4 separate regions of the Homo sapiens genome follow, and all the other regions are linked to region 4. The links are contacts of gene promoters, found by promoter capture Hi-C in blood cells and fetal thymus (Javierre and others, 2016). All regions are on one chromosome and are shown on one strand. Each heading gives the region's core, a stretch centred on a gene start or on the middle of the fragment in contact. The rest is flanking DNA. Distances are from core to core; before and after follow the strand shown. Region 1 has its middle 38 kb from the start of GLIS3. Region 2 holds the start of GLIS3 (GLIS family zinc finger 3). Region 3 overlaps PUM3 (pumilio RNA binding family member 3). Region 4 holds the start of RFX3 (regulatory factor X3).

Evidence for each region. The method cuts DNA at HindIII sites, captures the fragments that hold promoters and counts their contacts. A CHiCAGO score of 5 or more calls a contact.
Region 1: a fragment that was not itself captured here is called in contact with the fragment with the promoter of RFX3 in region 4 in 5 of 17 cell types (naive CD4 T cells, naive CD8 T cells, total CD8 T cells and 2 more); the score reaches 11.6 in naive CD4 T cells.
Region 2: a fragment that was not itself captured here is called in contact with the fragment with the promoter of RFX3 in region 4 in 2 of 17 cell types (M0 macrophages and naive CD8 T cells); the score reaches 5.6 in M0 macrophages.
Region 3: a contact is called between a fragment that was not itself captured here and the fragment with the promoter of RFX3 in region 4, in 1 of 17 cell types (fetal thymus). The highest score is 6.8, in fetal thymus.

Annotation. Positions count from the first base shown.
Region 1 is chr9:4,335,084-4,341,396 of GRCh38, reverse strand. It overlaps a transcript of GLIS3 not described here. Among named protein-coding and RNA genes, the nearest start is that of GLIS3, 38 kb to the right of the region's middle. RefSeq lists an enhancer at 1,714-2,008. The HindIII fragment of the contact is 1,497 bases long and covers 1,654-3,150 here.
Region 2 is chr9:4,297,622-4,303,889 of GRCh38, reverse strand. GLIS3 (GLIS family zinc finger 3) reads left to right here and starts at 3,822. Exons shown (of 11, transcript NM_001042413.2): 1 at 3,822-4,469. GLIS3-AS2 (GLIS3 antisense RNA 2) reads right to left here and starts at 4,589. Exons shown (of 4, transcript NR_186824.1): 1 at 4,467-4,589. The HindIII fragment of the contact is 4,501 bases long and covers 2,162-6,268 here.
Region 3 is chr9:2,836,278-2,842,662 of GRCh38, reverse strand. It overlaps PUM3 (pumilio RNA binding family member 3), which reads left to right. Exons shown (of 18, transcript NM_014878.5): 2 at 4,146-4,237; 3 at 5,262-5,483. The coding sequence starts at 4,156. Among named protein-coding and RNA genes, the nearest start is that of PUM3, 4.6 kb to the left of the region's middle. The HindIII fragment of the contact is 2,236 bases long and covers 300-2,535 here.
Region 4 is chr9:3,522,063-3,527,514 of GRCh38, reverse strand. RFX3 (regulatory factor X3) reads left to right here and starts at 1,514. Exons shown (of 17, transcript NM_001282116.2): 1 at 1,514-1,768. LOC124902110 (a long non-coding RNA gene) reads right to left here and starts at 1,030. Exons shown (of 8, transcript XR_007061398.1): 1 at 738-1,030. RefSeq lists enhancers at 570-869, 1,130-1,179, 1,757-2,373 and silencers at 1,360-1,549, 1,980-2,069. The HindIII fragment of the contact is 14,491 bases long and covers 1-2,892 here.

The sequences.
Region 1 (6,313 bases), core at 1,153-3,652, 810 kb before region 4:
ATCAGCCTGGAGAAGAAGGAGAGTTGATTTGAACAGGGTCAGATGTTGCCTGATAACTACAAGTGTGTAATCCCAGGGTAATAGAGCTTATCTTTCACTCGTGTGAGTGCAAGCCAGGAGAGCTTTAAGCTCCAGTGATGCCAGATAGGTTGGAAATGGCTGAAGAAGAAGTGGAAGTAGATGGATAGAGAGCAGTCTTGTTTTGTCCTAGAGAGTATTGCACAAGCCTGTGGATCAGATAATGCAACTAGGAAAGTCTGTCCCCAAAAAGGAAACACATAAGTTCTAAGCATACCATTGGACCAGAAGAGATAACAGATCATTTGGATTAGAGGGAAGAAAGACTTGCAGTCCAGAGGCTATTCAAGGATGTCAGATGCCAGTTGTGGGTGTTTGCAGAGTTGCTAAAATATCAGGTGAGGCCAGGCACGGTGGCTCACACCTATAATCCCAGCACTTTGGGAGGCCGAGGCAGGTGTTTGAGACCAGCCTGGCCAACATGGCGAAACCCCATCTATACTAATAATACAAAAATTAGCCAGGAGGGGTCACCCACACCTATAATCCTAGCTACTTGGGTGGCTGAGGCAGGGACAATTGCTTGAACCCAGGAGGCGGAGGTTCAGTGAGTTGAGATAGTGCCACTGAACTCCAGCCTGGGTGATGGGTGACAGAGCGAGACTCTGTCTCCAAAAAAATTAAACAAAAACAAGAATCAGGTGGGATCTGGTTCCGACAACGGTCTCCAGGTTCAAGTGTCCATGGTGGTTAATAGCGTGGATGTGGAGATGAGCACATGGACCATCACCCTCACTCCCTCATTCCTGCTGTCCTGCCACCACAAATACACAGAAGCTTAACCCTAGACCCAGGAACCATCCGGGCAAGGAGAACAGGGATGGAGGATGCATCCTGAAAGATGAGGAATTTGCCCCAAAGACACTGGGTAAGACAAAATAAAAGAATGTTTCATCCTGGAATTGAGTTGCCTTTTAATTGGGAAGTTGAAGTTTTCCCCCACCCCCTCACTTCTATTCAGCTCAAAAGTCAGATGACATCAGTCATGGCAAATAAAGGAAAATGACATACTTTTTTTTTTTTTTCTCATTTGATTTGTAATTCCTAAACTTCTATCTGGGTACAGACGTTTTGGATTATTCAGAGATTTAAAAAATACATACTAACTCTGTTCCCCTGTGGTAATTAAAAGTTGGCCATGTAAGAAAGAAAATATTAAAAGTATGGAGAAGGCTGTAGAAAAAGGGAATAGATCCAGAGATTCTAGGGGAATATCAACCTCATGCTAAGCCAAGCCGTGAGGACATGGTGAATTCACTGATGAGCAAGAAGCAAAGCCGCTTGTCAGCTGGTATTAAATGTTGACTTCTCCCTAGTCTTTGTGTCTTGGTCAATACCAAATGAGAGAATGTTTGCTCTTAAGTTCACTCTAGGAAACTACCCACCAAAAACTTGCTTTACCTTTCTGTCTCTTTTCTTTTCCTTTCCTTTCCTTTCCCTCCCCCTCCCCTCCCCCACCCCTCCCCTACCCCCTCCCCTCCCCTCCCCCTCCCCCCTCCCCCTCCCCTCCCCTCCCCCTTCCCTCCCCCTACAGTTTCTGGTTCTCTGGGCACGTTTTGATCCCAGTGAGAAGCTTCTTTTGTACCAAACTTCCCAAATCCCATCATTGCATTGTTATCTGGCTTTGAAATGTCACTGTGGCATCTCCACCCTTGCTTGGGAAACTTTGCTCAATGAAAAGTCTGATTAGCTTTACCTGACCCTAAATACACACAACAGAGACGGATCACAGAAGGACCAGAAGCAACAGGTTGGAGAGGTTCTTTCCGGTTAGCAATCCAAACCTCTGCACCTATTTGGCCTCTAGGCGGCGCCAGCCCTTCAAAAAACAAGGCTGTTTATGTAACAGATTGGCAGTTTGAACGTCTATATAAATGTCATTCTTTAAAAATAAAGACGAAACTCTCAGTTAACTTAAACAGGAGCAAATTAAAAAGTAGAGTGAAGCATGTATTTCATGAACACAATTCATCGGCTGTCTTTGGTACTTCAAAATGAAACATTTTCTCCAAATAACTGGCACCCTCCCACTGGCTTTAGCTACATAGTGACAAAACAACAGATCAATTCACTTCAGTGAAGAAGACAAATCCAGTCATTGAGGACTGGCTTCATGTGACTTACACACCTGGGGACAGAATTCTATCTATGCCACCAAATATATAAGCCAAGCCACTAAATCATGACTGAGGTGTTGAGTTTATCCTCCCAAACATATCGAGGTAGTGTTGTATGGACAGTCTCAATTGTTTTGAACATGATTATTTTGCTTCATGAACTCACCAGGAGGGTCCTTGAAATGCCGCTTTTCAACATAGTTTTAAGGGTAAGCCTGTAACACATAAAGCCGTCTCATTTTGAAGGCTTTGTGTCCTTGTGTGTTAATGCAGAATCTCAATCTTAGCTTCAAAATGGAATCACTTGGGGAGCTTTAAAAAAAATCCCAAGACTCAGGCACATACCCCAAACCAATTAAATAAGGATCTCTGGAGCTGGGACCCAAGCAACAGTGCTTTTTCCAGGCTCCTTAGGTGATACAATATGAGGCTATATTTTTGGTTCCTCTACTTTCTACTTGCAGCTCCTTCTCCCATGGGGCTGGCTACAGGAACCAATCTCCAGTACTTACACTATTTTCCCCCAGTTCCTTTTTCTCCCTGGGTCTGTCCCCAAACTTCATGCAGAACAATGCCTGTGAACAAGTCACATGCCCTTTAGATTCTTCCAGACCTATTTGAAATTCAGTGGTAGCCACATCTTGACTTCAAGTTTGGGGCCCTATACAGTCATTGACTAGTAGATATGAACAGTACCTCATAGGTTGTCTAGTATGGTGACTCCCAAATACCAGTCCTGAGCTGAATTCTCATCCTGAATAAGAATAATCCAGGGAGCTTGTTTAAAAAATTGTGTGTGTGTGTGTGTGTGTATGTGTGTGTGTGTGTGTGTGTACACACATATATAATAGAAATCCATCTATCTCTCTATATATACGTATAATTTTGTTACCAGAAAGTCTCATTCAGTAGGTCTACAGAAAGACCTGAAAGCTGTGTTTTAACAAGCTAAGCTTAAAGGAAACTCATCTAGTCCAACACTGCCAACACATAGCAGCAGCAAAATCTCAATGGGATATGCCTTGTTCAAGGAAACTTGTCTAGTCAGGAGAAGCGATAGGATTAGAATCAGGTGTCCTGACTCCTGTGAAAAGAAGTCATGCTATGGACAAATACAGTTTTTGCATTTCAAAACTAAACACACACACACACACACACACACACACACACACACACAGCCTTGCCAATCTTACCAGTTAGACATTAGAGAAAGAGCAAACCATCCTGGGAAATCAGATCTGGGTCCTAGCTCCTGCTTGGTCACATAAGCTGTGTGGTTTGGGGCAAATATTTTCATCTCTTTGAACCCCAGTTTCTTCATCTTTCAAATGGGGGTAATAGTTGCCTCATAGAGTTTTGTGAGGATTAAATGATACAACATATCTGAAAGATGGATAGTGGAGCCTGGTACTGAGTAAACAAAACTGGTTGCTACCACCTCTACTATTATGCTACTATTGTGATCATTATTATGAACATTAATCAGCTTTTGTCTGGCCTTGTGATATGGTAGAATGAGTCAGATATTGGCCCAAAGGGATCCTCCATGTTCTTTTACTTCAGTGATGCTTGAGGCCCTTGTCCAACTCAGCATGTCAGAAAAAATGACCGGAAGGAGCCTGAAGCTTTTTGTTTGTTAGATATATTTTTTTGATTATAAAGGAAATATACATCATTGTAGAGTACATAGAAATGTTCAGAATCATTGCAAAATATTGCCTTCATTCGTTTAAATCAAAAGTATGAAAATACTGTCCGTACGATTTTGTATCTTTATTTTCAAATGAACATTTCCTATGTCATTAATTTTTTGACCATATCACTTTAATAGCTGCATACTATCTAATCATATGGCTGTATTTAATTAACTATTTTCTGATTGTTAGACATTTATGTTATTTCCAGCTTTGTTACAATAATTAACACTTTGGTGAAGGTCTTTGTAGATAAAGTATTTTTCTGAGCTTCTGATTATTTCCTCAGGACTGTGTCCCAGAATGAGAGTTTTGGGGTTAAATGATTTGCACTTTTAATGATTCTATGTGTTGCCAAATTACTTTCGGGAAAAGTTGTACCAATTTGTTTGTGCACTAGAAGCCAATGACACTACCAACTCTGAGTATTTTCTTTTCCTAATTTGATAGGTTAAAAGTAGTATCTCATTTTAGTGCATTTAAAAACATTTACTAGTAATATTAGATTTTTAAATATTTATTAGTCATTTATATTCTGTCCTCTGGAAATTGTCCATTTACTTGATCTATTTTTCTCTTGGAATTTAGTGAGTTAGTGTCTTCCTTATCAGAATATATGAGTATTCATGTAGAATTGACAGATAACTTTGTAGACCTCTTTTCATAGATCTTTTTAGCAGATCTGTAGTGTAATTAGTATGAACATCTCTCTACTATCATAAAAACTTGCCAACTAAAGGAATATACAAATTGTATAGGACTTGGGACATGAGCTCTGGAGCAGTGAACATCGCACGTTTCCCATAAGTGATAGTTTTGAGGAATGGCAAGGTTTGGAGTTAGGTGGATCTGGGTCTAAACCCTAGTTCTGTCGCTTACTGGTTTTGCAGTCTTGGTTTTGTTGTTTTATCTTCCTGAGTCTTACTTTCCTTTTCCATAAAACGGAAACTATATATTCAGTTTCAGGGCTCATGTGAGGATGCCAAGAGAAAGGGTGATATCAACACCCCGACACATGTATCAGTGCCCTCAGGGTCTGGCACCAGAAACTGTAGCAATGATCCTAAGGGATCCAGGTCCCTGACCCAGAACTGCCACCCAGAGTATTGGTGACCTGGCCTGGCCTGGTGGCTTTGGCCCTGTGGAGCAACTTTAATGCTAGTTACAGCAGCACCAGGGGCTTAGTGGATAGATAGCTTAGCCATAGAGATCTCTGAAAGTATTCAGAGCTAAAGAAGAGGAAACCCATATATCACATGTGGCCATGGAGAGGACTGATTTTGAATCCACATGAGATGCTTTTTGGAGACTCCCAAGATTAGGTCAGGGAGAAGAGTTGGCAGTGGGCTAGAGCCAGAGAACTATTGCTTTCTACTGCTATTGTGACCCTACTTTAATATCATGCCATGTGGCTTATGGGTAACAAACAGATTGGGAAATGGAGGCCCACAGAGGTGTAATGACTTACTCAAGATCTCACAGCACATCATCTCCAAACTCAGGTTTTCTAACTGCTTGCTCCCTGCCCTTTCTTCTTCATCACCTGTCACCAAGTAAATTTACCGAAGTCCGCAAATTTTTACCTTAGGTTGTCATAGCTCTGTATTAACTAACTGAATTTCTTGGAACTGGATACAAACACCAAGGCTGGAATGAGGGAAGAATCACCTTATCCTGTTAAATCTGGTTCAATGGGGGAAGGACCCTGGGGCAATTCAGAGTAGGGCAAGGGACCCAGGGGATGCCAAGTGTGTTCTGAGGCTTCTTGAAAGGGATGGATGCCTCTAAGAGAGGTCTAAATAGATCCTGATGTTTCAGGTTTAAACTAAAACCCTAAGCCGTGTTGAAAGTGCCCTTGTTTAACCCCGGGCTACTTAGGGTACTACAGGTGAGATGCCAGGTGTAAGCTAGGTTAACGCCATCCCCAGGGCTGGTGAGGGAGATAGACACCAGAACCACTGAATTCTGCCTGTTTTTCACACTTGAAGGCTTTGCACAGGAAAGCACGTGGAGCAGAAGTGATAATTCAGATGATTAGAGCAGAAGCCCTTTATGGAGTAGCATTACCAGATCTTTTTATTTGCTATATCTGGCAAGTTTACGAGCAACTGAGGATTTACTTTAACTGAACCATTTGGTTTAGCTGTCTACAATTAATTGATCAATTTCACAGGTTAATTGGCTTAGGGCTTCATTTCACTTTGTGGTATAGACTTTGATCGTCACTGGAGTTATTTCTTATGCTTCTAATTTGTTTCAATTATGGCACTAAGATGCTCAGTAAAAATGAGTGGAAATGGGGCCAGGTACGGTGGCTCATGCCTGTAATCCCAGCACTTTGGGATGCCAAGGCGGGTGGATCACGAGGTCAGGAGATCAAGACCATCCTGGCTAACATGGTGAAACCTCGTCTCCACTAAAAAC
Region 2 (6,268 bases), core at 3,163-5,662, 770 kb before region 4:
AAGAATAACTGGCTGCCTGCGGAATATTGTATTTATCTATGAATTTATGTTTGTTATGGTAAGCTCTTTGTAGATATACCTAAGTAATATGTCAAGGAATACATCATCAACCTTTCTCTGAATTTTAGATACATCTCAGCTTGGTTTGTATAAAAAAGGAAGAAACATTTCACCAATTAGACAAGATTGAGAGATATTGTATGGAGTGAAATATTTGAAATTTTGGTCAGTTGCATTTGGTCTGACACATTTTAGACTCTGATTTACAGTTTTGACTTTAGAAAGGAAAAGAGGTATGATGTTGTGAATGCGATATGTGTAAATAAGAATTTTTTAAAAAATTACATCACTGACATGTATGTGAGCCGAAGAGTTTGGGCTGAACATACTTGTGACAAATTAGTAGAAAAATCAGCTTAAGTTTTCTTAGTATATCACACACTGATAACATAATGTGAAATTTGCTGCATTCCACTATTTGTACTACTCAGGAAAGTAAAATGGAAATTTTCCATTTTACACATTTAGTTCCCCCCTTAAAGTTGGCAAACACTAACTTTTTCCACTGCATTTCTACGTAACTGGACTGTTGCCAGCTCGTGTGTGTGTGTGTGTGTGTGTCTGTGTTTTAATAGCTAGGCATACTATCACTGGTGCTATTAGCTCAACTTATCTGTATTTTGGGGTTCAAATTTGTTTCTTTTCACGGACACTTTGTGGGAGGAGGAATCTGATCATAGTTCTTTGCAAGTTTGTAAGTGGTTTACTGTCAGAGCACTCAGGGTGACTCAAATAGCAGTTCTGAAGTTTTGCTGTCAGGATGTTCCTTCGGGAGAGTTTCATTGCTGTGAGACAGTGGATGTTCCTATTTTGTACTCTAGCTTTGAGTGAGCTGCTTGCTATGCAGGACTTATGCCTTCTGTGCCCCTTTTGATGCTGATTCCTATACTTGAAATGGTCTCCTTTGCTTATCACTTCTCTACTCATTCTTTGAAGTCCAGCTCAAACAGCCAAGCTACTCCATGTCACATTGCAGGAAATTATTCCTGCCTCCTCCACACTCCCTACAAACTTCATTGTGCTCATCTAACACTGACCACAAGATGCTTTGCACTTTATACACCTGCAATATGTTTTATACACATTCAAAGAGCATGCACAATTATTCTGTAGTACAGTAATGTTGATTGAACTTGGGGCTTCTAAACTGGCATACTTGGCTCTGTCTCTGACTCTCTTTAACTGTTTACTGAGCTTCAACTTCTTTGCTTCTAAGTAGGAGATTATTCATAGCCACATCATACATTTGATTTGAGAATTAGATGAGGTAATATATGCAAAGAGTCCCCATTTCTTGAGGGTTTGCTACAACTAAGACACTGGGCAAAAAGTTTTCTGTAATATCCTCCCATATACAATGCCTACAAGTGTTAATTCCTTTAGTCCCAATACTTGGACAGAGTGTGTACTCACTGAATATTTCTCTGATGAATGAGAACTGGACTGGAGCTGGCAGCAGGGGCCTGTCTGCTGAGTCAGCTGCCCTGAGTCAGCGGTTGAGGCACATACAACACTGGTCTCTAGAGAGGGAAGATACTGACTGGGCTGCAGTTCCCACCTATCTGGCTGAAGGGCTGCCAGAGTATGATTCCTAAGCACGATGGAGAGCTCATGGGTAAGGGAGAGTATCATTTTGGAACTACATGATTTCCTTTCTCACTGTCTCTCATTACCACCCTCCCTCACCCCTGCTGACCAATTCAGCCCAGAAGAGGTACAGATCTCATTCTGAGTCATTCCAGGGTTGTACTGGTACAAGAACAACTGCATTTTTACTATAACCCATGGAATATAAGAACATTGCAGATCTACATTCTTGGCCAGAAAAAAAAAAAAAGAAAAAAATTCAACCAAAGCACTATACCTCTTCAGTGGTAAATATTTTAGGAATGTTAGAGGTTCATGAAAATCACACCTAAATAAAATGACATTCCCACTCTTGGGCTCTTATAAATGAAGAGATTTTGGGGATCTCCAGGTTGATGACTCCTAACTTTCCCAGTGTTTTTTTCCATGAGCTATTGATTAAAGTTGGGTGTAGCACTATATTTTTTTCTCTTCCAGCTAAGCTGTTCCCATCATTTGGGAAGTTTTAGAAGCTTCTGCAAGCCCCTAGGATACCATTCTATGCATCAAAACCATTGTATTTAAAATGATATTTGAGGGACATTGGAAAGGTTTTTTGCAGTCTCCACCCAGGCTTGTCTTGCTCCTGGGAAGCAGTTGTACAGCACAAGAATCTGATGAACAGAAGTTCCCATGATGCATTGAAGGGTTAGTGTTGCCATCTTGCTCTGTTCCTTAAGGCTGGAGTTAATGAGGAAGAGTTTTTATGTGAATGTCAGGCATGTTGCAATAACTAGCCACAATGGAATAGTCATGGCAATTTCCACCACTTGGTTTCTTTGTTTTTGTGATGTTGCTGCATGCTTCATTTTATGAGTATTTTCTTTTCTTACGTGTGGTTGAGCCCATCTATTGCCATCTTGGGCTTGAATACTTGTATTTAAAAGAGATGAACAGAGAGAAACTGGAAAACTGACAGAATGACATATCCTGACCTCTTACTATTTTTCATCCCCTACTTCTGCTGACAAATATTCTGATGAGTTTGTGTCCCAAGGTGAAGGAAAAGAAAAGAAAAAGTACTGTGGAAACCAGGCTTCTTTTGGTTATGTTAATATCATGGATACAGACCAAGCCTAGTAGTATTCCCACTGAAATTAGATAAATGAAAACTGCCAATAGTCTTTTAGTTTTGGCTTTCTGGGGTAAGTCATTTGTGTCCTTGAGGACTTCTGTCTTGATCAAAGCATCTACTACCTGATTGCTAATTTATATTGGAGTGGTAACAGTAGAATAGAATATAAGGACTTGTGAAATTCTAAGTGTCTGGTGGCATCCTCACTCATTTCATTCATGATGGTGAATAATACTGTCAACTGCAGAAAGGCCTACCTGGAGGATATTGTGTGCATTACATACCTAGATTCCCAAGATGGAAGTCCTTGCATCTGTGGCAATACATGTGATGAACTACTAGGAGCAGACTTTCTTGTAACAACCTTTTGAGGGCTCTGGTCAACACAAGCAGAAGCGGTGGCGAGTCAGAGCTTAGGTGGGGTATGAGGCTGAGGATGTTGAATTCATAAGGATAAAGTGCCACTTTATAGACGTAACATACGCAGGGAATATACCTCCATTCTTAACAGCCTGTGTTCAGAATTTTATACCCTTCTAACACTTCCATCACCTTCCTCTCTTCCCTGCCTATACTTGGAAAGGATGCCAAAGCCTTCCTTAGTGCTTCACCTATCCAGTTTCGAAGCTGTCATGTGCATCCGATCCGATATTTCAAAGCAACCCTTTTGCCATTTTTCACTGTGTTATTCTCTCCGTATTACTACCGGATTTTTTTGGTTGTTTGTTTATTTTTTTATGACCTGACATCAAATCCTGTCTAAACACTAACACTTTTTCATGTTAAAATAAGTCAGTTTAACAAATAAGGCCAGGAAGAAGGCGAAGTGTCTCCCTGCTGTTACCCTGTTCTGGAGTTCCTCGACTTCTGGCGCACGGGGAGTGTGTGTGTGTGTGTGTGTGTGTGTGTGTGTGTGTGTGAATGCGTCAAGAGGGAGACACAAGCTCGGCCTTCGAATTGGCCAGCCTAGTGACCCGCGAGCCCGCCCCCACTCTTCCCCCTCCCCCTCCGGCGCTCACACTCAGGAAGCAGCTGGCTACAGGCCGGCCCTCGCGGCCGCACACACATCCACACTCCTCGCCCGGCTGCCTTCCTCCCTCCCTCTTCCCCCTTCCCCTCTCCCTGCAGCCGCGTCCACACTGCGCCGCCCGGGCAGCCCAGAGCGCGGCGCGCACGGGCACCGGCGGCGAGTGCCGCGGCCACTGCCCCTCCCGGGACCCCCTGTACGCCGTCCGCGCCGTCCAGGGTCACACCGGCGACGGAACCCGCCGGCAGCAATTAGCCAGCATCCCGGGGTCGGCCCCCAGAAGCATTCCCCGGCCCAGGACGAGGATGAACAGGACAGGCGAGGCACAAAGTCGCAACTGAACTTTTTAGAAACATTATTTGTGTGTGTATGTGTGTAGCAGGGGAGAATGAGCTGATGCCGAGGGTCCAGCCACCCCGCCTCTGCCTCCTCCTCCCCCTGCCGCCGCTGCCCTCGCAGACGCGCGCGCACACACGGCACTTGGGCCGGGTTTCCGCGCTCCGTCCCCCCGTTTGGATGGGGGTTTTCATTTCCGAAGGAGGCACAGCCCGCGGAGCGCTCTGAAGGGCTGGAGCCCCAAGTTACTCCTCGCCAGCGCCGGCCGCCCGCTGTCACTCGCGCTGGCCGGCCGGGGGAAGGGACCCGCACGCCGGGCTTTGTTGTGGAAATCCCGGTTACCTGGTAAGTGGATGCCATAGGAACTTTGCTCGCAGGCGAGAGACGAGGAGAAACCGGGCGCTTGAGAGTGTGGGGGAGTTAAAGCTCAGAGACGCAAACTAGGGATTACAAATAGTTTTCTACGCTGAGCCGGTGGCGTTCGCGCGGGTTTAAGGATACGCGCACCTCAACTCCCGGCGTCACAGGTCACTGAGAGACCTGCGCTGACTGAGACTGATAGCAACAATTAGGGTTCAAACCATGTTTCTGTCAGTGGCCTAAGAGCGCCCAGTGTAGAAGACAGATAACGGGGCTTTAAAGTTGCGCTAATTCGGAACAGTTTTTGTGTTTTCATTTCAAGTAGAGCGGGCAGAGGGGTACACAATCAGGGCACGTTACAGGACGCACGGGCATGGGGCGCACCACTCTGGAGTCCCCACTGAAGGGAAACTTTGGCGAAGTGGGAACTGATGGGGTGACGTGAGGTCTCTCGCGCACACGCGGGGCTGTAGTTGTCTTTTCAAGTTCCACGTGTTTGTGGAGTTTCACGAAGGCTGTTTTCCACGCCTGTGTCTCATCCAAGCCGGTGTCCCCATGATTGCGGGAGGTGGTCGGGCTGAGGGTACCTACACTCCTCGCGGGTACCGGCCCGGCGATCCGCAGCCGCCAGGTCTGGAACTATAACCTCCCACGCCGCCAGGACGCAGACACAGCCAGACACGAACCCTCCCCGCCGGGTTCGTCACCTCGCGTTTACATTTTTTATGGGGCCCGACAAAATGTCAGCACTGTTTGGAAAATGTCTCAGTCTCGGAGACGTTGTCCTGCGCGCGGCTCCAGTCCCTATAAATGACCCTGTGTGTATTTTGAAGTCGGCCCGGGTCGCTCTCTGGAAAGCGTGAGTGAGCCGCCGGCTCTCTCCTAGACACACACCTTGCCCCGAGCGACAGTTCCAAGTTACTCACTGGAGCTGACAAGTCACCTCGGGGACCGGGAAGTCACTCAAGTGTCTGGAAATCTTGGCCCTGGCTGATTTGTCATCCTATGGATGATTCAATTAGGTACCTGGCGGGAGAAACTTTGGGGAAGGGTTTCTGGCTCCGCGTTCGCGCCCTCCGACTTGCTGGAGGTGTTTGGGAGGCGAGAAGCGAAAGGAAACCACAGGGTGAGGACACTGGCTCGGCGGGGACCGGGGGGCCGGCGTGGGGGGACTGCGAGCCCGGCCGTGGCGCCCCCGGGCTACAGGCTCCGGCCAGGCCGGGCAGCGCGCGCAGGTCCCCGGCGCCCGGGCTTCCCAGCCGCAGCACCCTTTCGGCCCCCGACTCACTCAGGAGCGAGTTGCACAACAGGAAGCCGGCACTAGTTTGTTTTGTTGCGCTGCGTTCGCTCCCTCGCTCGCTCGCGCACGGGGCCGAGGGTTAGGGGCGGAGGCGGCGGGGGAGTGACGGGGTCGCAGCCGCGCGTACCCCGCCGGGCGCTGTCGCCTCCGCCTCCGGACCCGCCCCTAGCTCCGCGCCGAGGAATCTCCGACCCCGGCAGCGAAGCCAGTCCTATAGGGAACCGATAAGGGCCGCCCTCCTCCTGCCTTGTCCTACGCGCCTCTCCCCCGCTCCCGGCACCTCTCCCGACTTCTCCAGCCCTCCTCTTGGCAGGAGTGGTCTCGAGGACTGAGACCACTGCTCTGTGTGCCTCCTTGAGCCCCACGCTAGTTTGCCCCGGTATCCGCTTGGCCCTCATCTCTGGAGCATGTAAACCTGGGGAAGGGGTAGGGAGGTGCTTCCGGAATCACAGGGAGTAGGGTCCGTAGAGACAGGACTCGTGGA
Region 3 (6,385 bases), core at 168-2,667, 680 kb after region 4:
AGCCAGGAGATTGGATGAGACCACCTAGGGAGAAGTGTGGAGAGAGAAGGGAAGTTCCCTAGGGCAAAGATTTGAGGAATGCTAACATGTAGAGGTTGGTCTATAAGAAAATGTCATTTAAACTGAATTTGAAGGATGGGTAGAAATTGTGTTGGTAGAGAGAATGGCTTTAAACTTCACTATTCTGATAAGAATAGTGGCTCCTGTGTGGTGGTGATGAGTGGGGTGAATTAAGACCACATTTTGAATGGCTGTGAATGCCTGAGTTGGAACTTTTTCCTGAAGGCAGTGGGAAAGCTTTGAAGCTATTGGAGCATGGAAATGACATGAAATAGGTGTGCTACTGGAAGGTTAATCAGGCAGCGGAAAGTGGATCAAAGCAGATAGGATCTAAACAAAACTGAGCAAGAGGTAACAGGAGCCTGAATGGGGTAATAGAGGGAAAGGAAAAAGGGGGGCGAATTCCAAGAGACACTATTGAATGTGATGATTCATTACGAAGGTACAGGGTTCCCAAGCAAAGCAAATTGCATTTTGCCCAGTGCAAAAAGCAAGACTCAAAAAGTTACATATTGTATGATTCCATGTATAAGAATGCCATTCTGGAAAAGACAAAACAGGAGTGAAAACCTAATCATTGGCAGTCAGGAAAGAGGGAAGGAGTTGAATACAAAGGAGCTGTACCAGGGGACTTTTTAGAGTGACAGGACTTTTCTGTAAGATACTGTGGTAGTGGATGCATGAGTCTTAGCCATTTGTTGAAGCCCGTGGAATTATACACCAGAAAGAGTAAACTTGACTATATGCACATTTAATAAATCTGCCAGCATTTCTGGGGATGGAATGCAGGCTGTGACAAATCAGTTAAACTATATTATAAACATGTAACTTCACTAAAGAGGGTGAGGGGCCGAAGGGCTGATCTAAGAACCTTTTTTTTTTTTTTTTGGCCTGCAGCAGTAATTGCTGCAGGCAGAATACACTGACTTGAATGCTAAAGTTAGCAAGTAAAACTTAAGAGGAGGTAGGATGTCCATATATTCTCCAAACATCTTGTCTGAAATGTTTATTAATTGCTATGGTAGTTTAACATTTGAAATAGAGTCTCACTCTGTTGCCCAGGCTGGAGTGTAGTGGCACAATCTCAGCTCGCTGCAGCCTCTGCCTCCTGGGTTCAGGTGATTTTCCTGCCTCAGCCCCCTGAGTAGCTGGGATTACATGTTTGCAACACCACCATGCCCAGCTAAATTTTGTATTTTTAGTAGAGATGGGGTTTGGTCTTGAACTCCTGACCTCAGGTAATCCACCTGCCTCAGCCTCCCAAAGTGCTGGGATTACAGGTGTGAGCCACCATGCAAGCCTCTAAGTAACTTTGGAAAAGTATTTTGAATGGATACAAAAAAGAATTGTACGTCAACACTGTACTGTCATTGTAAATTTATTTCTCACGGGGTACAGGTTAGCAATTCTGAAACTATGCATGTATAGTAGGGTGGAATATGTGTATAAATAAATTGTAGATGGTGGGAAGCAGGTTGCTCACTGTCAGAGAAGGAAGTTACAAATGAGCAAGAGGAGATGCCTGGAGGAAAATATGTGGTGCTTGATTAGATTTGGAAACATCAGTATGAGCTTCAAGTTATTGTAATAGATATAAAAATAAATATAGGTATGTGCATATGCATAAGTTAATATACATATATGTGTTTCCTGAATCTGTCTGCCGAAAGGACATAGAAACAGGGACACCTCAGTGACAACAAGTGCGCCTAGCACTCAGATCTTGGTTTTTAAATACCATTCTCAATGAAAGGAACCAGGATTCCTTGGAGAAGTGGCTGATTTCAGGGCTAGGTTAAGGAAAATACAGAAGGAACCTGGAGCCAGTGCCAGGAAATAAGGATGTGCTTTAAAAGCAAAACAAAACAGTTGGGCCGCGTCAAAAGGACACAGAAGCAACCTGAGAAACTTCCCCCTGGCTGGAGCTAGCATTATTTGAGCAACAAAATAACAGTGGTATTGGATTATAACCAAGGAATGAAATAAATATCTGAGACTATATGATACAAGTAAATAGATGGAAAAGATGGGACAAGTCTTCCCTACAGAAAAGTTGAGAATAACAAAGGCAAAAGTAATAAGAGAAATAGAAGATCACCATTTAAATGCAGTAATTGCTGCAGGCGATATCCACCGACAAATGCTAAAGTTAGCAGGTAAAACTTAGGAGGACATAGGATGTCTACATATTCTCCAAACATCTTGTCTAAAATGTTTATTAATTGCTGTGGTAGTTTAACGTATGCCTGGATTCTTTAGTACCCCTCCTTCTGGGAAGTGGAGCTTAATTTTCCTCTGACTTTGGGCTGGACTTGGTGGTTTGGATCTAATAAAGATGGAAAGGTTAAAGTGGCAACTTCACAGTGGAGAAACCTGGAAAACACTACTTTGACCAAGTGAACACGGTTAACATAAACAGTAATAAGTCATGTTAATGTCATGTACCTCTTGATAGAGTACTACCAGAAGAAAGCTTGACCTCTGGTAGTCTTCCAAAAAATGTGTAGCCTTAGCCTAATCATGAGAAAACATCAGGCAAACCCCAAATGAGGAATATTCTACAAAATACAAAGGAGACTTGATGGCCAGATTCAGTGTATCCTGGTACAGAAAGAGGATATTAGTGGAAAAACTGGTAAACTCCAACTCAACTCTGTAGCTTAGTTAACTGTATGTTAACATTAGGGGAAGCTGGGGAAAGGGTATATGTGAACTGTGTATCTTTTCAACTCTTTTGTAAAGCTAAAATTATTTCAATATAAAAATTAGAACAAACATACAGAGAAAACATGTAAATGAATGGATTCTTAGAAAACTACAGGTGTAGAAGAGCTGAGAGATGCAGGTATGGTTATGATGGCCATAGCCAAGTAATAATGTGACCCTTCAGTTCTAAATGCCCTGAGGAAGCTGAGTAATTCAGGGACTGTCCATTTTTCAAAATCATTAGAAAAGTCTAGATTAGAACAGCACTTTCCAGAGTACTCCTTGGAAGTCTGCTGTTCCCTTATGATGTTCCAGGAAAAAGTGGTTCAACTGGAGTTGGAAAATCCTGCATCCTTTAGCCTTTGCTTGAGAATTGATTGTATATATTAGCAAATTAAAGAATCTGAAAAGCCTTTTCTTACGGGCTGATTCTTGTCATTTAACTTACTGTTTCCCAAATATATTTTATCCCAGAACCCTTCTTTTCTCTTATGGTAATATCCTGAGAAATTAGTTCTTGAATGGGCAATTCTAATCTAGAAATATCTGGTGTTGTCTAGGGATCCCTAACATCTGTTGTTTACAGCCAGCTTTCAAATGAGTTGATCGTCCAACTTTGGAAAGTGGAGAAATGAGCCAAATGGCTTTTTCTCTTGATCTGTTCTGCTGCTTTCAGGGACCTTGGGTAGGTGAGGGGTTATAACTTGTTTATCCTGTGCACCATGGTGTCTCAGTAGCCTATAAAGCGCCTATTAGACAGATTCCTTTCAATGAAATATTAACTATTTCAACATCTTATTTTGGAGTTCACTGCCAATTGCTTGGCTGCGTCTAAAACAATCACAGATTAAACACTGGATGCTAATCTTTGTTTTAGCTGTGTTGGATTGCATAGGAATCTTTCAGATAATCCTTTATTTTCTTATATTAAATGCATGTAGTGGTACATGCAGCCTATTGTTTGTTCCTGGCTTTTTAGGCTCCAAGAAATCAAGCGATAATTTTGTCAGTTATTCATCCCCTAGTCTTCCCAGGTTACAAAATGCAAACTCTGATGCTTATTATACTTAGTGTCAATAGTGGTCTATTTTTAGCCAGTACTATTGTGGAAGTGAAGTGATGCCTCCAGAGATATCAAACACTGGCCAGGGTGTGTGTTGTTCTTAGTTTTTTTATTGATACCTTGTTCATTTTCAGTTTTAAAATTTGAGTCAGTGATTGCAAAATTGCTGGATTTAAGTACTTGTCCATTCTATATCTGGCTGATTTGTATTGTATTTGTAGACTGAAGGACTAAATGTGGCAATGACTATGAAACAGCTCTTATTTGATGAAGAGAACTGCAGTGATTGTTTTTGGTTTTGGTTTTGGTTTTCCAGAGTTGCTACGATGGAAGTTAAAGGGAAAAAGCAATTCACAGGAAAGAGTACAAAGACAGCACAAGAAAAAAACAGATTTCATAAAAATAGTGGTAAGATATGCTTCCCATGTGGGTGTTTGGCTGTTATAATTGGGGGATGGGAGGGCATGTAGTAAATTTCAATCTGTATTCATTGGCTAGGATTAGGATTAAAATAGTAGGAAGAAGTATGTGTTATTGTGTATGAGTTAACATGTTGCTCATGACATTTAGACACTTAAGAAATTGCAAGAATGATTGAGGAATGCCTTATTCATGAAAGACTCCTTATCTCAGTTGTTGCTGCTGTTGCCTCATTTTATTCACACTAGTTCACCATACATTTTATTTTAACATTTGATAAATTAGGACTGTTTAATACATACTGCTCATAAGCCAAATACGTTTAGGTTCAGAATTTATAATGGTGATGTCTTTATTATTCCATCAGGTGTCAGTATTGTAAAACAGAAAAGTCAAGGGACTATACAAATGATTAATGTTTCCTTAATGTTAGCCATTACTGTTTGCATCTCATTTGTTAGGTACTAATTTGTAAGCCTTCTTGATCAAAAGTTTTTGATAAATAATTTTAATATAGGCTTTAAAATTTTCTTAAAACTAGAAAATTTTAAAATTAACATTTTAGATGTCCTTATGATATACTTTCCAAATTTCAAGAATGTTCAAGAAGTCATTTCTTAAGACTTCTTTTGTTATTGAACTCTTGAAAATTCTGTGTAGACCATCATTAAAGCAGAATACAAAGGTATATAAATAATAGCTCTGCTATATGCTTAAAACTAGAGAAACATACCAAACTGACACCAGTGTTTATCTTTAGTGGTAGAATCATGGGTAGCTTTTATTTTACATTTCTCTACTCTCTAGGTGGTTTTATAATCAAGGAAAGAATTTTTTATTTTTGTTTTGATTGTTTAAATCCAGTTCTACTCAAAAGGCTATATGTTGCATATTTGAGAGTAAGACATGGTATTGGGATTAAAAAGTATAATTTTCTGTAATGGATATAATCCAATAGATAAAAGAGATTTGGGCCCAGAATCATTGAACTTATAATTATTATTGTCACTAGATTCTGGTTCTTCAAAGACATTTCCAACAAGGAAAGTTGCTAAAGAAGGTGGACCTAAAGTCACATCTAGGAACTTTGAGAAAAGTATCACAAAACTTGGGAAAAAGGGTGTAAAGCAGTTCAAGAATAAGCAGCAAGGGGACAAATCACCAAAGAACAAATTCCAGCCGGCAAATAAATTCAACAAGAAGAGAAAATTCCAGCCAGATGGTAGAAGCGATGGTAAGTACTGGTTCGTTCATGCCTGAACTAGTGCCTGAACGATTGTGCACAGGGACTCTGGAGGTGCGTTAGAAACCTCACATTCTTATTCCTTGGCAGGTAACATTTTGGGACAGGTAGGTGGCTTAAATAAACAACAAAGCATCTTTCATGCTCACAATTTTCCTCTGGTGCTTAGAGTTTCTTATTTCTTAGCCCTTTTCTGAATTACCTTAGCCATGGAGTTAAGTTAAATTATAATGGCTTTATACAGTGGAACCTCAATAAAACATTTCTTTTTATAAGCTAAAATTTATTCGTTCATCGAACGAGTATTTGAGTTTTCTATGCATTGTACCAGGAGATAGGGCAAAACACACACACACACACGCACACACACAAAAATAATCAGTAAGGATACAGGCCCCAACTAATCATAGAATCTGGCTTTAAAGAATCAGTCTGTCCCCAGCTAAGTGTCAGCCTTGGTTAAGGATGCTTTGGTGAGCAAGAAACATAGAGACCCTGCCTTCACAGAGCTTAGGCCAGTCTAATACAATAAATCCCTCTGATGGCGCAGATCCATAGTAGTTCCAGAGAAGGTGTTGTGCACACATGACAGATTTGATTTTAATTGATTCAGGACAAGTTGCTCACTGATTGGAAGTATTGGCAGGTCTCGTGCTTGTCTGTTGAAACAAACTGCCCATCTCTGTCAACGATGTTCAGTGGGTCATTTCTAACCCAGAACTTTGCTCTCTATTTTATAACATTCCGCTGTCGTGCTTTGTCCTGCACTGATCTCAAACAAGCAGTTTCCAGGTTATGTGGATTGTCATATCATTACTTTCTTTGCAACATCCTGAGAATTTTTCTGGTGCCTTTTATTCTCTTTTTCTCCAGCACAGCGTGTCTTAACACTG
Region 4 (5,452 bases), core at 265-2,764:
TAATGTATGTAAAACACTTAGCACCAGTTCTGGGACACAGAATGAGCTCAGTATTATTTTAGCGCTGGTGAACGCATGCCGGCCCAAATCCCTTACTTGCAGGTGCAAAAATTAAGCCTCAAGAGGAGAACTGACTTCCTAAGGCTCTACTTCTACTATGTCATTGTCCTGGTTAAGCAGCTTAGCGGCAAATGTTGGGAGATTTTGGGTATTGGCAGGGCCTGGGGGCATGTGCCTGCTGGACTCGAGTCTGCAGAGAATTGGAGGAGTCTGTTTGAACCATGAGGCATTACAGGCTGTGCCTTATCAACGGGTGTTTGAGATGGCAGGTTGTGTTAACAACATTCAACACAGACGGAAGCCATTCGTCTATCTCAATACAGCCACAAACAGCAAGACCCTCAGCTACAGTAGGCTGAGTAACGGGGGATGAGAGCACGGCAGGTAACAGGATCCGGGCTTGAGCTCAACTCCCAGTTCGGTCTTTAAAGAGGGGTGAGCACTTAAGGGCTGAAACTAACAGAACTAGAAACTAACAGGATGGTATCGCAGGCAGGTGTAAGCTACCCCGCCCCTCTACGCCTTCCGTCGAGGGGAACCGCCAAATGCGCTTTCTCAGCCTCCGGGCAGGGCAATTTCTTGCTCTCTACAGGCACTTACTCCCATCCCTTGTAGATAGGGAGTGATGACCTCGCTTTTTCGTTATGGAGTGAGGGCCGGACACGCTTGGACCTCACCTCTCCGCGCCACGCTGCGGCGGCACCGCGGGAGGCCGACTCGCGCCCACGCACACCCCACGCTCGCCTTCTCTAAGATGGCGGCAGAGGCAGCTCGCTCACGCCCCGCCGCCCGCGCTCCTCCACAAGTCGTGCCCTCAGGAGGCGGGAGCGGGTGAGAGCGCGGAAAGCAGGAGGGCGAGAGTGACGCGGACCCTCCAGTCTAGCGCAGGCCGCGGAGCCCTGAAGCGTCCAGGAAAAGGAAAAGCCAGGAGGCTGACGCTACCAGGAACACCGCCGGCGCCTCAGAAACTAAAAAGCGGCGGCACATCCGGGCCCCTCTGCCCGCCCCGCCCCGGAAGTAACGTATCGGGCAGGGCGGGGGCCGCTCTTCAAAGTGGATTCTTCCCTCGCCATAGCTCGTTTCTTCACAAAGTGCCTGGAATCACCCTCGCCACCCCCTCCCCCGGGTTAGCCGTTACTCTCTCGTGGCTCCGGGACGTCTCTGTACAAAGCTGGCTGCTGGGACAGGCAGCCCTCGTTTCACAGATAGTACCCCTCGCACCACGACTCCTGGGCCTCGCCAGCGCGTGTAGTAACGTCCCTCCGAGAGGACTCTTGGTGACCTCAGCCCCAGCCAAGCATAGGCGCACCTCTTCGGAGTCCTGCGGTGGAATCCCGGCCTCGTGCCCCGTCACCCCGCCGCCCCGCCACCCCACCCGGGTTTGGGGGCCGTCAGTCACAGCGCTGCGCCCTCCCCTTCCGGCGGCTTGGCCGGGCCCGCCTCCTCCCCTCTTCCCTCCCCCACCCCTCCCCGTGCGAGTGTCTCCCTCTCCCTCTCGCTCTCTCTCTCTCTCCCTCTCTCTCTCTCTTTTGTGAGTTATAGCAACCGTTGCCTTGTGAATCAAGCGCCATAGTCACCGTAGTCCTGGCGACTGTTACCCATCAACAACAACTACTCCTCTCCTCCTCCTCCTCCTCTTCCTCCTCCTCCTCCCCACCACCACCATCTCCATCACCCACCAACAACACCACAATAATCCACAGCCAAGGTGAATATTCTTCGGTCTCTACATGTGTGTGGGAGCGTGTGGCTGCGTGTGAACGCGTGTGTCCGTGCGTGTGTGTGTTCGTGTGTGCGAGCCGAGTGTGGCTGTGCTGGGGTCTCACTCCTGACACGGGGGCTGCCGCTGCGGCGCCGCCGCCGAGGGGCTCTGTTCCCCGGGCTTGTTTACAATGGACCCTGCGCGCCGCGGCTGGGTCGGGGGTGTGGGCGCCGCGCCGCCCGCCGGCCCCGGCCCTGCGCCGGCCGCACTTCAGGGATGGAGCGGGAGCTTGGGGGGCTGCGAGCCGAGCGGGAGAGGGAGCCACAGTTTTCCGATGCGGATGCTGGATCTTTCCCTTAGGTCTGGTCTGAGGAGGAGGGTCAGGTGAAGAGATAAGAATTTGTTCTTTCTTTAATTTTCTTCTTTTCCAACGCTGCTGTTTCCTGCTTCTTTCAAAGCCGAAATAGACAACAGTGTGCAAGGGGGGGACCCAAGAGGTGGTGTTTTGTTGTTGTTGTTGTTCACTTGTGGGGCCTTGTTATGGGTTTTGTTATTTTTAATCCTCATACGTTGGTGAACTTTTCCCACCGCCCATTCCCTTCATTTTTGCCCCTCTTTGCCTGGTGCTGAATGGGCTGCTCTTCTTTCACCATCATCAGCTTCATGGTTTTCTTTTTTCTTTTTAAAACTGTATTTTCTTTGTGCGGCAAACAGTCTTAACATCCATTCAGCACTCTTCCCTCCCCCTCTTTCTCCCCCCCCCCACACACCCCTTGCACACATATTGAAACCTGGGGCCTGTTCGTTGGGCCCTCTTTGCTGTACTGGGAAAGATGTTTTTCTTTTTTAAAGTCTGTCTCCTCTCTCTTCTTTGGTGTGTGTGTGTGTGTGTGTGTGTGTGTGTGTGTGTGTGTGTGTGTGTGTGCTTGTGATTTAAACCGGATGCAGGGCATCTGTGATACTTGGGTTAGTAGTTATTGACAGTGCTTTATCCTTCATGTGGAGGTGGGAGGGGGAGTAGTGAGGTTCCGTTTCACTTTGATGATCCTCCTTCCCCGCAGTAGAGTGTTAACAATTTTCATTGTGATTATGAGACTTTGTGATGAACAGGGAAGGGACACAAGGAAGCTTTGTGAGAACTCAGTTCACAGTGTTATTTGTGACAGTTATGGTACTTTAAGAGTTTTTTTTTTTTTAATCTCCTCATTTTCCTTTGAGAGTTGAAATTCAAGTCAAGTTCATAAAGAATGTATGAAGGTTCTCAACTTGAAACGTGTGTATATTTCACTTTCTTTCTGGTTAAGATCTAGGCATGTGTGTACTTAACATATTCTTTTTATTTACTTTTTGATTTTCTTTGGACAGTGACTTGAACCTGCTCAGGAGAGAGAACTTTTTCCTTTTTAAGTATTTCTTTTAAAAATTATTTTTCTCTGTAGATTTGAATACTTATTAGTCCTTATATAGTAGGTTCTTGGTTAACGTTAACCCAGTTTTACAGATCCCCTAAATTTGTTCATTTTTTTCAGCTTAACTTTTAGTTAATAGATTTATCAGTAGAGTTTTGATAATGAATGTGTGCTAAAACAAATATAATGTACTATTGTAGTTGCACATATTGAAGTTTTAAATTTACAGTTTTAAAATGCTTATTCAAATAGTCTTCTTTCTAACAGCAAACATATATTGATTTAACTGACACAGCAGCTTGTGAATAATGTGACAGTACTAATTATTCTTGAGATTGTCAACGAGCAGGGTGGGTAATTATAATGCTATTAAGGCTAATATTTTGTAAAATAAGAGTTGGGATTTTAAAAAAACTTTTTCAATTCATTTCCTTGTGATTGCTATTTTAAATGAAGACGATATTTTGTTCTGAAAGAAGTCTTTCTCAGAGCACTCAGATTTGTTTATAATTATTCCTCCTCTCCCCAAACTGGGTTCCATGCAAATCTCTAATACTAACTTGTATTTTTTTTTCTGTTCAGATGAGTGTCAAATGCCTGAACACTTTTGGATGGTGAAGCTCCTGGGTCCTATAAACTCTCTCTGAAGTTAATAGGAGTTTTGCTGTCTTGGGACAGTTTCAGACCTTATGCCATTTACATAATAGGTTTTCAGTTAAGTAAATTATATACTATAATGTTATGGTTTAATATTTTATTTACAGTGTCTGAGAACTTTTTTTGAGGCATTTCACTCATGTATAGCTCAGGTTTTCTGTGATTTAGATTTTCATTCACAAGTTGATTTGAGAGCAGAACTTAAATTGAATTTCATTACTTTTCCATTTTTTGAAGCATATATGTGGGATAAAATTGCTATTAGAGCTGCTGTGGAATTGATTAAATAATCAGAAACACTGAGAAATGGTAAATTTAAAAATTAAACACAAGGATAGATACTTAGCATTTACTTTATTCTTTCTTAATATTTTTCCTAGAAGGGACTATGTTATGTATTGATACTCTCTTGTGTTTTCAGTTTTTATACTAATAGAAATTTGTAAAAGTGATCATGCTTTGAAACTAAAACTATTAAATAGAAGTCACTTGTAACTTGTTTTGAATAGTCAAATGTCTGTGATTCAATGTATGTCATAATGCCTAACTCAGTCGTTTTGGTGTGTTTTGCCTATGAATTGTATTAAATGGTGTAGGCATCATACATATACACATATATGGCAAACTAATGAATTTCTAGAAGTTTTGCATCGTTTCACAATGTTTTCATTAAAGGTTGTAGTGATGGTTAGTTTTTTTTGTATTATTCCTCCAGTACTCAAATAGTCTTGTACTCTGCTTTGGTACTCAAATAAAAGGTTATAGTTTATAAGCTTACTGTGCTTTAACCTGGAACAGTTTATTTTACCCTAAACAATTTATTATGGTTAATTTTTTTACCATTAACAATAGCAATTAAAAAATGAATGAATCTTAAAGGCAAGTTGGATTTTATGCGTCGTTTAAATGATAATGTATGTTACTTTTTGGTAACATTTTTCATTTCTTGAGAAAGTTGATATTGTGTTGGTATTCTCCAGCTGAAGAAATTAGCAGGCAGAATATAATGATTTTTGGTTTTCAGATTTTAAAGTCTGTGTGTGTGTGTGTGTTTGTGTTTAAATGGGTGGGCATAGCAGCAGATGTGTGGCAAAAGTTACACACACACACACACACACACACACACACACGCACACACACTTTTCCAGAACAGTAATAGGAATATTACTTTGTTCTTAGTATCCATAGTGAGAATGTGTTACAAGAAATGAGAATAGGGAAGAAGTAAACTTTAACATTTTTGAGAGGCTCCTGGTTATTTTGTTTTAATGCTGAACCTTTGGCTAAAAATCCTCTATTTGAGCTCAGTTACCTTAAAAACAGTTTTCATAACTGAGTAATTTGCCTTTAACTCTTTGGTATATATTCCCAGTGGCCATGACAAAGTATGTTTTAAATTCCTCTCTATTCACAGATACATAGTGTTCCCATATTTTGGAAATCCAAGATTAAGTGGATTTGACTAAATCTGGCTTGTTAGGGACAGATGGCTGCTTTAAACAGGTGTCACTTTCATTTTTTACTGCATTGTGTTGGGACTTCCAGTGGTTGACAAAAGGGCTGTCTAAAGCAGGTGGCATCCTTTGCTTTTGTTGTTAGTAAAATCTACTTTTAGAGTTTTCTA